Regions from separate parts of the Homo sapiens genome. Here regions 2 and 3 are each linked to region 1. The links are contacts of gene promoters, found by promoter capture Hi-C in blood cells and fetal thymus (Javierre and others, 2016). All regions are on one chromosome and are shown on one strand. The core of a region is centred on a gene start or on the middle of the fragment in contact, and the rest is flanking DNA. Distances in the headings are between cores, read along the strand shown.

Region 1 (5,067 bases), core at 1,603-4,102:
CATTTCTTTCCTTGTACTTTCTTTGGGTTTATTTTATAGCTAATTTATATTCAGGCTTCCCTATTTTCGTCCTCAGTCTCCCGAGTAGCTGCTGGGACTACAGGCACAGGTGCACACCACCACGACCAGAAATAATGCAGAGCAGCTAATAAAACAACTAACCCAGCTAATTTTTGTGCTTTTTGTAGAGTCGCGGTTTCGCCATGTTGCGTAGGCTGGTCTCCAACTCCTGAGCTCATGCAATCCACCCACCACATCAGTTGTAACTATTTTCTGCTTTCCATTATTTAGTCATTGAATTGGAGGGGTTTTTTGGTTTTTGTTGTTGTTGTTGTTGTTGTTGTTGTTGTTTTTTGAGACAGAGTCTCGCTCTGTCACCCAGGCTAGAGTGCAGTGGCGCGAACTCGGCTCACCTCAAGCTCTGCCTCCTGGGTTCACCCCATTCTCCTGCCTCAGCCTCCCGAGTAGCTGGGACTACAGGCGCCCGCCACCACGCCCGGCTAATTTTTTTGTATTTTTAGTATTTTTAGTAGAGACAGGGTTTCGCCATGTTAGCCAGGATGGTCTCCATCTCCTGACCTCGTGATCTGCCCGCCTCGGGCTCCCAAAGTGCTGGGATTACAGGCGTGAGGCACCGCGCCAGGACTTTTTTTTTTCTTTTTTAATTTCTGAAAACTTAAGACTTTTTTCCTAATCTGTTTTTACTATTGATATCTTACATAATGATCAGAAAACATGATCTGCAAGATCAGGGATCAGCAAACTCTGTAAAGCGCCAAATAGTAAATATGTTACACTTTACAGGCCACACTGTATCCATTGTAACCACTCAACTCTGACTTTATAACATTAAAGCAATCAAAGACAATATGTAAATAAATAAGGTTGGCTGTATTCCAATAAAGCTTGCTTTACAAAAACGGGTGGCTGGCCAGATTGGACTGTGGGCCATAGTCTGCTAACCCTTGATCTACATGGCACCAATTCTTTGGTAATTATTAAGATGTACTGCTACTTAGTTTTTTTTGTTTGTTTGTTTGTTTTTTGTGAGACGTAGTCTTTGCTCTGTCACCCAGGCTAGAGTGCAGTGGTGCGATCTCGGCTCACTGCAAGCTCCGCCTCCCGGGTTCACGCAATTCTCCTGCCTCAGCCCCTCGAGTAGCTGGGACTACAGGCGCCCGCCACCACGCCCGGCTAATTTTTTGTATTTTTAGTAGAGACGGGGTGTCACTCTGTTAGCCAGGATGGTCTAGATCTCCTTGACCTTGTGATCCGCCCACCTCGGCCTCCCAAAGTGCTGGGATTACAGGCGTGAGCCACCGCGCCTGGCCTGTTACTTAGTATTTGATGTTTTATAATGTTCCATGCATGCTTGAAAACCAATAAATCATCTTGTCCCGACGCTCCACTTCTTTAAAGTTCAGGCCTGGCCCATGTCAACATTTGCTTTTGTTATTCTGGCACAGTGATTAAGACACTCGGTTTTTAATAATCAGACAAATCTCAGCTGCTAGCTTTACCACTTGCCATTGGGTGGTTGGAGGCAAACAATGTCGCTAATCCTCAGGTTCCTCAACTGTAAACTGAGAAAATAACAGTACCTACCTCATGGGGGGCACATAAGGAAGGATTCAATGAGATAATCCATTTTATAAAGCGCCTAGCAGAGTCCCAGGCAGCCTTCAATCGTTAGTAGTGTTACCATCATGAGGCAGGTGTAATTATACCCATTTTACAAGAAACTAAGGCTCAGAGAGGTTTAGGTAAGTTGCCCAAAGTTTCCTAGCCAGTGGCAAAGCACAAGCTCCCACCCAGAACTTTTCTTCACAAATTCAGCGTTTCCGATACTCAAACTGATCCAGACACACTAACATTTAGGGGATTTACTGTATGCCATTCCGAGACGAGGCTGCATTTTAAGACGCCCAGGGAAGAAACGGATTGCGAAACCCAAAAGAATTCATTCTTTGTGCTGCAAGTTTTGTCTGAAAGGAAAGGGGCAAGAAGGGCATGGAGCGTGCTAGAGGTAACAAACCACCCAACAGAATTCTGGAACCAGGGGGCCGAAGCTTCTAAGCTGGACACATTCCTCTGTGGGTTCGATCCTCTAAGGAAGTGGAGTCACCCAGCGGCGCACCACGGCCCGAAGACCCTGCTGCTGCGTGGCCAGCGGCCCACGGCCGTGCGGCCCTTCGAGGCTCTGCAGCTCCTCGCGCCTAATGAGCCTGGCGCTTAAAAATACCACCCTAGTTAAACCTCCCGGAACCTGTCTTCAGCATTTCAAAAAAAAAAAAAAAAAAAACGGGCGCCGTCATCACTTTGAGCCACATAAATCACAGCCCTGACCTGCTGTGGATTCAGCAGGCGACGAGCCGCTGAAAGTGGCGACGAAGTCCGCCCCTTTCGAAGACCAGCAACTTTCCATTCTTTTTTCCCTGCGCAAGGCGCAGATTGCAACGGGGAGACCCCCGAGCAGCCTGAGGAGTGAGTCGGACGTTGGAAAAACTGCCCGGGAATCTCATCTTTCCCAGCCCAGGCTAAGCGCAGGATTCTTCAAAGCTATATCCTGTGACAATCACAAGGGTTTTCTCCGCCCCACGGGTGACGGAGAACTCGTGACCGGCCCCTGAGCTCCAAGCCGAGCGCCTAGAGGGCGCGGAGAAAGAGGGGGCGGAGCTACAAGCCCAGATCACCAGGCAGCCGAAGACGGGCAGCGCGTGCGCAGTCTCTCGCCACGGGACCTCCTTCCCGCCGCTGAGACTAGGAAGCGGGACGCCAAATCTGTCCCTGCGCAGCCGCCGCCGCCGGGCGCCGAGCGGGGTGGCCGCCCTGCCTGAGGCGCGCCTGCGCACGTCCCCACGCACGCTCCGGCGTACGGCGGCGGCCAGGGGTCGCGAGCCGGTGGAGGACCCGCGCGCGGAGGAGCCGGGGAGTCAGCGCTTCTTCCCTCCCTCCCCCTCTCCCCTCCCCGCTCCCTGCCCCCCTCCCCAAGAATGTTCCGCTACGAGGTGAGCTGTTGCGACCGGAAGTGACCCCTCCCTCCCTCCCGCGCCCCTCTCCCTCACTCTCTCTCCGCGCGCCGGTCCTGTGTTCCTGCGGGGCAGGGGGCGGGCTGGGGGAGTCGCAGGACTTAGCTGGACGCGACTGGTCTGGGGTCGCGGGTCTAATCCTAGGGCTGGGAGCTGGCTTCATGGGTCGAGACAGTCCCATTAGTTGCCGCTGGGGAAAGTTGGCCTCCGTTTTGGGGTGGGGAGGGCCCGTTAAGTGCTGTAACCAGACCACACCCCCGCCCCCACCCCTAGAGGAGCCACGGAGGGTAGAGCACTGCATCTCCCCGGGTGCTTTTCTTAAGTAGGTGTCACCCGGGAATTCCCAGAGCCGCGTTTCCCGCCCTGGACCCGGAACCACCCCCCACCCACCTCCACTCGAATTACACTGACACACATCCCATTCACACAGGCTACCTTCAGGTGAAGGGGGCCTGGGCTTGCCGTTGGATTAGGGCCCCAGCCCGTTTACTAAAGAGGGCTCCGAGTTGGGAGGGGGGCGTGTCCTGCAGAAGTTCCTTCTGGGCTAGTGCTGGGAGACGCGGGTTTGGAGAAGGTGCCGGGAATGTAGCAATAGCAGCAGACAGTACTGACCCTGTCACCAACTCACTGTGTGACCTTGAGTGACTCCTAATCTCTGGACGTAAACTTTCTGAATTTGTAGCATGAAAGAACTGATGTAAATGATCCTTAAGAATTTTTAATTTAAAAAAGCAGCGATTTGGTAAAGTAGATATTTGTGATTTGGAAGGGAGTACTGCTGGAAGTTGCCTCTGATAAGGAGGCAGTGGCATGCCTATTGGCATGAGTTTGGAAGGGCTCTGGGGTAAGAAGAACGCCCTTTGACCTAATCTTTCCATTGTAAACAGGGTAGCTAAGAGGTAGCCAGGCAAGGTGTATCACAAACGTACCTACTGATAGAATATGGAATTCTGATTCTGAATTTTTGAAAATTGAGGACAGGTATACTTGATAGGAATGATCTAAGACCAAACCAAAAGGAAAACTTGGAGAATAAATCAGTTGAGTAAGATTGAAGTAAAGGGGGAAAATAGAACACACCTAGGATGTGGTGGCCTCTAGCCTTTGTTCGATAATCTGTAATCTTTGCCCACTTTGATCATCACAACTCTCTGCCATAGTTGGTATTGTCCCTGCATTACAATGTAAGACATTGAGCCTTACAGCCTAGCACAGAACCTTAGACGCAATAGGTCCTTAAAAGGTATTTGATGAATTAATTAGAAATTTTCTGAGTTGCCCATGTTCACACTGATTGTAGGAATGGAGCCAGAACTTGAACTTGTCATACCACAGCTTTTCCAGAGTTCATTTTATTGTGGTTGAAGACCTAATTTTCTGTTTCATCACTAGAGTTTAGGCCTATAGGGAAGATAAGAAAGATGGAAAATGAAGACAAAGCTTTAAAACGGAATAATAGTTGAAAAGATGACATGAATATAATGAGAAAGATGAGAATTTTGCTGGAAAAGATACATAAAGATACAAGAAAATAAAGGGTTCATTATTAATTGTCATCAGTATTCCAACCAGTGATGTAAGGAAAGTTGTGGGCTTAATTTCTTGGTTGCATGAGGAACTGCTGTTCGTGGATTCTTGATAAAATAGAGAAATGGAATGCTGTGAGGTGGGGCAAGAATTAAATGAAATAAGGATTAGGAAATAGAAAGTGAAAGAAAGATGATGAAATCTTCCAGTGTCAGGGAAATTGGGAAGTAGAAAAAAAATGCCATCTTTACAAAAAGTCATAATGAAGCAATTATGTTCATTGAGAAGGTAAGATGAACATTTTTAGAACATTTTTAAAATGAGGGTGTGAATTTCATGAATAACTAATGTCTTTTCTTTTTTTTTAGTCTTTGGAGGATTGTCCTCTGGATGAAGATGAAGATGCATTTCAGGGACTGGGAGAAGAAGATGAAGAGATTGATCAATTCAATGATGATACATTTGGGTCAGGTGCAGTTGGTAAGTGACATCTTTCGCTTATAATATCATC
Region 2 (5,067 bases), core at 964-3,463, 250 kb before region 1:
CCTCCCATAATATATTCCAAAGATTCCTGGGCCATGTGAACATATCAAGGAATATCACAGTGGCACACTATACTGACAATATTGTACTAACTGAGCTGGATAAGCAAGAAGTAGCTGGTACATTGGGAGAATTGGTAAGACACCTGAGTTCCAAAGAGAGGAGATAAACCCTATAAAATTTCAGAGGCCCAAACAGATTGAAATTTTTGTGTCCGGTGGTCTGGGACATGCTGGGACATTTCCTGTAAAGGACAAATAATTGTGTCTTGCATCTCCCACCATGAAGATGAAAGCATAACCCTTGTTAATATCCACCAAGGAGCATCCACCATGGAAGAATTTCTATACAAATAGGTGGACAAAATGACTTGGCCAGTTGACATTGGCCAGTTTCTGTCATTAGCCATGCCATTGTTAGCACAAGAGAACCCAAACAGAATAGCTGTGGTGGCAAGGATGGAGGCTATATCTGGCTTAATAGCATGGGTTCTGACTTAACAAAACTAATCGAGTTACCGCTGTTACCAAATGTCCAACCTGACAATAACCCTAAGTCCCTGAGATCACATATCACTGGAAGAGACCAATCAGCAACTTGGTGACAATTTGACCACATCATATGCCTACCAGGTATAGGTTTGTCTGCAGGGCCTTAGTCAACACTACTATCCAAGGGCTTAGAGTATTTAATTCACCACCAGCATGATACCAGATAACATCATGCCAGACCAATGGACTCATTTATAACAAGAAGTGCAGGGCAGGACACATGATCAAGAGTTCCACAGGTCATATCATAAACCAGACCATCCAGAAGCTGCCCACCTGATGGAGAAATGCAATGCCTATACAAGGTGCAACTAAAGTGCCAGTGCAAAGACAATTTTCCTGCTGCAAACAAGAAATATAAAAAGATTCCCAAGCTTTTTTTAAAAAGACACTGATATGGCTTGGATTTGTGGCCCTCCCAAACTCATGTCAAATTGTAATCCCCAGTGCTGGAGGAGGGGCCTGGTGGGGAGGTGATTCAATCATGGTAATGTATTTCCCCCTTGCTGCTTTCATGATAGTGAGTGAGTTCTCACAAGATCTGGTTGTTTAAAGGTGTGTAGCACCTCCCCCTTCACTCTTTCTTTCTCCTGCTCCCACCATGTAAGACATGCTTGCTTCCCCTTCGCCTTCTGCCATGATTGTAAGTTTCCTGATGCCTCCCAGCCATATTTCCTGTACTGCCTGCAGAACTTCTTTTCTTTATAAGTAACCAGTTTCAGATATGTATTTATAGTAGTGTGAGAACAGACTAATATAGACACATTACAATTGGAGAGTAATAAGAATGAAGGCTGATGTATCAGAAGGAAATAGGGAGAACAGTAGACAAAAATTCATGTTCAAAATGCTGACTTAAAAAATAACAATCTAGGCTTCAATATCCAGTGAAAATTACAATTTCTAGTGAATATAAACCGAATAAAAAAGAATAATCATATGACCACCTCAGTAGATGCCTTTTCCCAAAGGCATCATAAGATACCCAGTCATTTTTGGAGAAGGTGTTCCTAGCTATCAATGTCCTGTTTCCATACATTTTCTCCAAGAAAGCACAGCCTTGTTAAGAAACTGCAGTTTCCCAGATCACATATTTCTATGGAACTAAATTTTAAGTATGTGATATTTGTTACTGACATTTTACTATCTTAAAGGCATTTCTGTGCAAGAAAATTTTAATTTTATTTTGTTCTAATAAGTATTATATTGATGAAACATATGTAAAACTTTTTAAAGTATCTCAACCTATAAATCCTATTTTTTCAAGTATTAAAATCATTACTTTTTTTACTTTTTCTTTGATTAATGTACAATTAATCCAAGTTTACAAATGATGTCTTCCCTACTCATCTGATGCAATTTAATGTCAATATCCTCAGATATTTTAAGTATAGTTACATATTTAATATATCTGATTCTCTCAAATGTTTCAAATTTCTAACAAAGCAGACTTACTAATTAGAATAAACTCTCCCAATGACTTAAATCACACTCATAAATACAAACTGAAACTTAGATATTTAGTAGCTCAAATCCCCTTAAGCATCTTAAGTCACAGCACCCATAAAGCAGCATAGTGACTGGAAAATGTTTCACCACATCCCTATAAACACAACATGCACACTTTATACCTATTTTTTTCCACATGTTCCTGGGGTTACAAGTTTACTCAACCAAACAAGGAAAGCAAAATCATCACCTAAGTTCCAGCCAAGGTTACATTGTCAGAAACCAGGACTGGCAGTCAAAGAAGGAAGAATGCAGCAGAGGGCACCGGGGGAAGGAAGAAAGTCCATGAGAGGCACAAAAGAGAGAGATGCAATTCCTTTATTGCATGTAGAGATTATTAAACAAAGCTCTTGAAAAGAGATGCACTGCAGGAATGTAGGCATCACTTTAATTGTAAAACTGATTTTATGGTCACAAAAGCACCTACATGGAAATGAAAAAAAAATACCTTTTCAACACCCTCACCATCTAAAAGGTAAAGTACAGTATCTACAACCACTGCATGAGCATTCAGACAGCACGTAGGCCTGAGATTCCATCAGTAGTAAAATCAGCATCTCTGATGCCCAAATTCACTCTTGTTCCATTATGACTGGGGGCATATAAAATGCCATTAATACGGAACTAAAAATTAAAATTACAAATAAGCATTATATGGGTTTTAGGCTAGTTGAGATGCTAGTGACCTGGAACTGACCCAGAGACCAAAATGTAATTATAGGGCTGGATTTAGCAGCAGCAGCCTTTTCCATTTATTAACCCCTAATACTCATATGGAGCTGTCATGCCATCCCCCATCTCCAACACCCACGTGCTAATTTAGGATAATGGATTGTGGCAGAGACCTTGTTCTCTGCTAAACTGCTGTGGTTAATGGAGAGTCCAGGCCTCTAAAATAGCTTTGCCATCATACCATATCATTATAATTTCTTATTAGATAGAAACAGTTCGTTTAAACAGGACAGTCTTAGGCTTTGCCTAAAAGTTTAGTTACTAGAACACAAGAAAGTTAATGTAGGTCTTTCTCAATCCAGCTTTTCCTAGTGGCTGTTAGCCAGAAAAATATAGGCTGCACAAACATTTTAACTCTTTCTCTCTCTTTCCTTTATCTATCTGATGTGCCGACTCAGTCTTGCCTAAAGATAATAACTGCTTATCTTAGATCTGACTCATGGATGGGTCAGAATAAACTTCTAGTTTTAAGAGATACTCACAGAGAGCTGAATGGTGGCATTGCCAATTTTTTTACCTTGTTATTGTTCTTCTAATATTTAAACATGATGTCATGAGCTGCCTTCCCTGCAGATGGCACTGTTTAATGGGTTTAGAGGAAGGAAGCCACAGGGCCCTTTGGAAGGAAAAAAAAAGTCTGGGGTGAATTTTTATTCACTCATCTAACAAATATTTGAGCATCTCCTCCCATTTTTCATTGAATCTAAGCTTTAACTATACCACTATTTTTCATACGAAGATTAAGGAAACTTTATATCTTTAGGATTAAAGAAACTACCAATGAATCAGGCACATTTTACTACTTAGTCTTTGAATTTTATAAAAATTGAAAGAGCTCTTATGGACATCTTTAATCATATCACTCTTGTGCTGTATACAAAAGCAAGTGTAACAAAAAGCAAGTATAAACAAAATTAATTGGTTGAAGTAACCCTAAAATATTTTTACAGTGAGTCTCACTCTTCTAAATCACTTCTTGGATCGCAGTCATCAATGTTCCTGTTTCCCCACAAATATATCTCTCTTTGAGCCATCACCACCATTGGTGATGCAATATCTCTTAAAAGAATGCTTCATTCTTCTCTCCAGATTGTATGCCAATTGGTGGTACTTATTTCTCAAATTTTTATGCCAGCACTCTCTGACCTTACCAAGAGGCGCCAACAGAAAGTTTCAGACCAAGTTCTCCATGTGCAAATGATGACAGCTACAGCATTCCTGTCCACTGACCAATCATTATATATAGCTGATTATAAACTTTCTAGAATTCTGATTTTTTTACTGTGTAAAAAACTGTCCATGTCAGAGTAAATGAAATATATCATGTGCCAGTTCTCTTCTATGCACTGGAAACCTCATGTAGGTGACATTATAAGGAAAGAATACAGAAAATAAAAAATAAGCAAATTATATATCACATTAGATGGTGATAAATACTGTGAAAGAATAAGGCAGGTAAAAAGTTTAATGTAGGACAGAGGATAGGATTTTAAGTAATTTTTTGAGTCAGGGAAGGCCTCATTTAAGCAGAGTTCTTTAGTTGTCAAAGGAACTGATCATAGAGGAAAAGGTGTGACATGGGTTGGCTGTGTCCCCACCCAAATCTTATCTTGTACTGTAATTCCCACATGTTGTGGGAGGAACCTGGTGAGAGGTAAGTGAATCATGGGGGCAGGTCTTTCCTGTGCTGTTCTTGTGATAGTGAATAAGTCTCACGCGATTTGATGGTTTTAAAAATGGGAGTTTCCCCACACAAGATCTCTTCTCTTGCCTGCCACCATGTGAGACCTGCCTTTCACCTTCCACAATGATTGTGAGGCCTCCCCAGCCATGTGGAACTGTAAGTCTATTAAACCTCTTTCTTTTGTACATTGCCCAGTCTTGGGGCATGTCTTTATCAGCAGCATGAAATGGGCTTATACAGTTAATTGGTACCAGTAGAGTGGGGCACTGCTGAAAAGATACCTGAAAATGTGGAAGCAACTTTGGAACTGGGCAACAGGCAGAGGTTGGAACAGTTTGGAGGGCTCAGAAGACAGGAAAATGTGGGAACGTTTGGAACTCCCTAGAGTCTTGCTGAATGGCTTTGACCAAAATACTGATAATGATATGGACAAGGAATTCCAGGCTGAGGTGATCTCAGATGGAGATGAGGAACTTGTTGAGAACTGGAGCAAAGGTGACTCTGGAGCAAAGGTGACTCTTAACATTTTAGCAAAGAGACTGGCAGCATTTTGCCCCTGCTCTAGAGATTCGTGGAACTTTGAACTTGAAAGA
Region 3 (5,067 bases), core at 1,056-3,555, 140 kb after region 1:
AAAAAAAAGTATCAATATGGATTCAACTGTTAACAAATGAGGGATAACTGTGGTGTTGGAGGGGTGAGGAGGTATATGGGAACCCTATAATTTCAGTTTAATTTTTCTGTGAATCTAAAGCTGCTTTAAGAAATAAAAGCCAGCCGGGCATGGTGGCTCACGCTTGTAGCCCCAGCAGCACTTTGGGAGGCCGAGGCAGGCGGATCACGAGGTCAGGAGATCGAGACCATTCTGGCTAACACGGTGAAACCCCGTCTGTACTAAAAATACAAAAAATTAGCCAGGCGTGGTGGCGGGCGCCTGTAGTCCCAGCTACTCGGGAGGCTGAGGCAGGAGAATGGCGTGAACCCGGGAGGCAGAGCTTGCAGTGAGCCGAGATTGTCCCACTGCACTCTAGCCTGGGCAACAGAGCGAGACTCCGTCTCAAAAAAAAAAAAAAAAAAAAAAAAGAAATAAAAGCTGTGCGTGGTGGCTCCTGCCTGTAATCCCAGCACTTTGGGAGGCCAAGGCGGGTAGATTTTCTGAGTTCAGGAGTTCCAGACCAGCCTGGGCAACATGATGAAAACTAGTCTGTATTAAAATACAAAAAATTACCTGGGCGTGGTGGTGGGCACCTGTAGTTCCAGCTACTTGGGAGGCTGAAGCACAAGAATTGCTTGCATCCGGGAGGCGGAGGTTGCACTGAGCCGAGATTGTGCCGCTGCCCTCGAGCCTGGGCGACAGAGTGAGACCATTGTTTCAAAAAAAAAAAAAAAAAAAGATATTAACTTTTAAAAAGTAGATAAGTCAAAGGATAAAACAATTAGAGTACAAAGTAAAGAAACACTCTTTTTAACTTTTATTGCCAAACATCACTTCTTGTAAATCCTAATTTAACTCCTCCTGCTTTCCACTCTGTTTTAAAAAGAACATTTAAAATAAATACCAGTTTGGGTGCTGACAGGCTTCTGGATGTCTTTTGTGTTTTGCAAACTGCTTAAAATGAAATTGCCCCTTGCTTTGCTAAAGTATAACTTATATATTATAAGCTGCACATATTTAAAGGGTACAACTTGATGAGTTTTCACACACACACACACACTTACACACACACACACCTGTGAAACTGACACTACAATTAGGATAATGAGTATCTCCATTATCCCCCAAACCTCATGCTCCTGAGAACTGCAGAACTCTCCGCATATAGCTCCGTCGAAACCCCTGAACTAGACCAAACTCTCACATGGCTTCTAGCAGCATAAGGCTGTTTCCTTAGAATGACCGCAGCCCCCCATTAAATGCCTGCTTGAGTAAGCTCAATACTGCCAGGAGAATTTACGGTTTGTTTTACCCGAACCCTGATGATAGGCCTCTGACCTCCCTTACTTAGAGCATTTACAAAAAAGGGCTTATGATTGTGAACATGCATCTCTTAGAACTCAGAAATGTCTTTCTTAAGGACCTGGGAGCCATTCCTTTGAAATGTAATTATCAAAAAGGATGAAGCCTCTGTCTTCCAGTCTCTGTGGGAGGGTGGAATCCTTTGATGATTGCCAGCTAGCAGACACAGCTGGCCTCATCGCATTGACACTGACGAACCGTTTGCAATTTTTCACTTCTCTGACTCTATTGAGACCTCACACTCGCCCATTCTTCATTCATTCTCCCTGTAAAATGCTCGAACCACCTCTGCACGAATCACAATGGAGCCCAGCTCATTCCCCTACTGTCAGTAGTTACTGAATAAAATCTGTTTTTGCCGCTTTAACTAATGTCCCACTGTGTGTATGTTTGATGTGCCTTTGTACACTTTCCCTCCATGTTCTGCCCATACTGAGGCCAATGTCTGGTCCTGCTGCTAACCGCTGAGCTCTCTGGATTTCACAGTACTTTACCTCTCATTGTTTCATCAGAGCACAACTTCTACTCAGCTAATTTACCTCCTATGATCTTCCCTTTGAAGTTCAAGCAACACAAAGCCAATTTTCTAGGCTGACTCCCAATTAATTATTAATCCATCAATAACTCAGCGAATGTCATCATTTTCAAACATTTTTCGTTTTTAAAAGGCCAGGTATTTTCTTCAGAGTAAATATTTAAAAGTATTAAGAAAAATCAGAACACAAGATAATGCATACAAGTTTTTTTTTTTTGTTTTGTTTTTTTGCTTTTGTGTTGAACTATAATCAGAAGTAATAGGGTATAGAGAAAAGACACCATCTTGGAAGTCATGAGATTTGGATGCCAACCTTGCTACATTCATAGAGCAATGGTAGAATATTTATTTTTTCGAACTCCTGCCTCAGCCTTCCAAAGCGGTGGGATTACAGGCATAAGCCACTGTGCCCTATCTTGAGAAAGATTTTTAACAAAGTGTGGAAAGAAGGGAGGTCTTTGTTAGCCTGGAGTTAGCTATAACATTCAAAGAATTAGAAATTCCCAAATGTAAAGAAGGAGCAAGCAGATTGAAATAGTCAGTTTTTTGCACCTTAAATCACAGCGGAGGGCTCCTATCCCCAGGGACGTCTGTTAGAAGGAAGCAACCTGTTAGTGCCCCTGAGGCACAAGGGCCTCTTCTTGCCATTCCAGGATCGAGTGGAAAACTGCATCTCACCCCTGCAGATGCCATTTTGAATGTAAATGTGATTTGTTTGTTAAAGAGATTACCTGGCACCAATATATTCACAGGTCAGGTTTGTCTAGAAATAAAATCTTAGTTTTGAATGTGGTTTATGCAGCACTTCACTGGTACCTGTATTATGAAATTCTAAAAAGATGAAATCTATGACAGACCTATGTTAGTACATTTGACTCAGTCCCAGGGGTTCCAGTTCTGAGGAGGCCTTGGTCTGGCTAGAGGATTAAAATTGGATTTCTCATGAGGCTAATGGAGCTTAAGCCTTGTAGCCCCTTATTTGAGGAGCCCAAGGCCCTGGGAAGTGCCCTAGCAATATGCTCACAGGGTCACATGTTTTTGTAGAGCTTGCAATAGTAAAATATTATAACCACAATCAGCTGGGGCTCCTGTTTCTTCTCTGAACTCCCTTCCATCACAATTCTTAGTTTGGTGGCTTTAGAGAGGTCACAGGCATTTTGGGGATCTAGTTAAGGTGAGGTTGAGTTAGGATACACTTATTTTGGATCTAGCAGCATGCATTTATGTGATTTGCAGTCACTTCCGTGTATTAATGTCAAGATTTTCATGGGTCAGTAAATGATAGAAGTAGGATTAAAACTGAGCTTGACATTCATATGCTTAACGATTAATCAGTAAGCCTTGGGTACCTTTGCTTAAAGGTATGCTAATGTCTTCCGAGTCAACTTCTAGCATTTGACCCCAGTTCCTACCTTCTTACCTGGCTCCAACACTTTCCTTTCCTTTCTTGGTTTTTCTTTCTTCTTTTTTGGTTACTGCCCTGCCCATACAGTGCTGTTCCTCCAAATTGAAGTTTGCTGGACCATATCTGTGCTCATGCTCTTCCTCGGCCCCAAATGCCCTCAACTAATTATATTTATGCTGGTCCTTATTCCATTTTTATTACTTTAAATTGAGATACTAGCAAAAGGCCAGGTGCAGTGGCTCAGACCTGTAACCCTAGCACTTTGGGAGGCCGAGGTGGGCGAATCACTTGAGTCAGGAGTTTGAGACCAGCCTGGCCAACATGGTGAAACCTCGTCTGTACTAAAAATCTAAAAATACAAAAATTAGCCGGGTATGGTGGCAGGCGCCTGTAATCCCAGCTTCTCGGGAGCCTGAGGCAAGAGAATTGCTTGATCCTGGGAGGCAGAGGTTACAGAGAGCCGAGATCATGCCACTGCACTCCAGCCTGGGTGACAGAGTGAAACTCTGTTTAAAACAACAACAAGGCCGGGCGCGGTGGCTCATGCCTGTAATCCTAGCACTGTGGGAGCCCGAGGTGGGTGGATCACGAAGTCAGGAGATCGAGACCACCCTGGCTAGCATGGCGAAACCCTGTCTCTACTAAAAAATACAAAAAGTAGCCAGGCATCCTGGCGCATGCCTGTAGTCCCAGCTGAGGCAGGAGAATCGCTTGAACCCGGGAGGCGGAGGTTGCAGTGAGCTGAGATTACGCCACTGCACTCCATCCTGGGCAACAGAGCGAGACTCCATCTCAAAACAAACAAACAAAACAACAACAAAATGCAATACCAGCATCAATGAAGGTAAAATAAAACTGAAAACAAGAAAGATATTGATGATTAAGGGGTTGATGAGTATCATCAATTCATGGAGTGTTTAAGATTATTCAATGCTCTGGCTGGGCTCGGTGGCTCACGCCTGTAATCCCAGCACTTTGGGAGGCCACAGCAGGCAGATTGCTTGTGGCCAGGAGTTTGAGACTAGCCTGCCCAAAATGAAAAACCCTTTCTCTACTAAAAAAGCACAAAAATTAGCCAGGCGTGGTGGCACACGCCTGTAATCCCAGCTACTCAGGAGGCTGAGGCAGGAGAGTTGTTTGAACCTGGGAGGCAGAGGTTTCAGTGAGCTGAGATCGTGTCACTGCATTCCAGCTTGGGCAACAGAGTGAGACTGTCTGAAAAAAAAAAAGCCTTAAAGTAAGTGATCAAAGGTGTTAACAGATCTCTTAGAAATAAATTAATGTTGGAGATTTCCATATTGTTTATACACATATATGTGATATATCCCATTGTTTGAATATATAACAATCTCTATATTATTCCATATTATTTGAGTATATAGGTATATTAATATACATATATATTCAATCACATCAATAACCATGTGTAATCAGAAAAAAATAGTGAAAATACTTAACAAACGGATTTCTTTTTCTTTGTCTCTTCAACTGAGGGTTGGCAGTTAAGGGCTATCTAGTCTACATCTGACTCTAGAATATATTCATTCTGCAGTATCCAAACTGCTACAGATATATACAAAAATCTAGATTATTTGCACGACTCCAACTGTGTTTCTCATACCTCACATAGGCAGGTTTATAAGCTGTTATTGAAAAGACCAATACACATGATAAAAAAAGAAACAATTCAAGGATCAGGGTTAAACTCAGATCCAGAGCATATTTAAGAACCAAGGGGTGTGTG

What was found. The method cuts DNA at HindIII sites, captures the fragments that hold promoters and counts their contacts. A CHiCAGO score of 5 or more calls a contact.
Region 2: a contact is called between a fragment that was not itself captured here and the fragment with the promoter of PATL1 in region 1, in 1 of 17 cell types (neutrophils). The highest score is 5.7, in neutrophils.
Region 3: a fragment that was not itself captured here is called in contact with the fragment with the promoter of PATL1 in region 1 in 2 of 17 cell types (activated CD4 T cells and non-activated CD4 T cells); the score reaches 5.3 in activated CD4 T cells.

The regions. Positions count from the first base shown.
Region 1 is chr11:59,666,822-59,671,888 of GRCh38, reverse strand. PATL1 (PAT1 homolog 1, processing body mRNA decay factor) reads left to right here and starts at 2,852. Exons shown (of 19, transcript NM_152716.3): 1 at 2,852-3,008; 2 at 4,925-5,036. The coding sequence starts at 2,994. PATL1-DT (PATL1 divergent transcript) reads right to left here and starts at 2,579. Exons shown (of 4, transcript NR_187296.1): 1 at 2,347-2,579. RefSeq lists enhancers at 2,303-2,592, 2,519-2,813 and a silencer at 2,773-3,122. The HindIII fragment of the contact is 2,400 bases long and covers 2,072-4,471 here.
Region 2 is chr11:59,917,494-59,922,560 of GRCh38, reverse strand. No RefSeq gene overlaps it. Among named protein-coding and RNA genes, the nearest start is that of OOSP1, 18 kb to the left of the region's middle. RefSeq lists a silencer at 932-1,092. The HindIII fragment of the contact is 2,575 bases long and covers 926-3,500 here.
Region 3 is chr11:59,525,434-59,530,500 of GRCh38, reverse strand. No RefSeq gene overlaps it. Among named protein-coding and RNA genes, the nearest start is that of OR4D9, 16 kb to the right of the region's middle. RefSeq lists an enhancer at 1,606-2,107 and a silencer at 4,087-4,368. The HindIII fragment of the contact is 9,501 bases long and covers 1-5,067 here.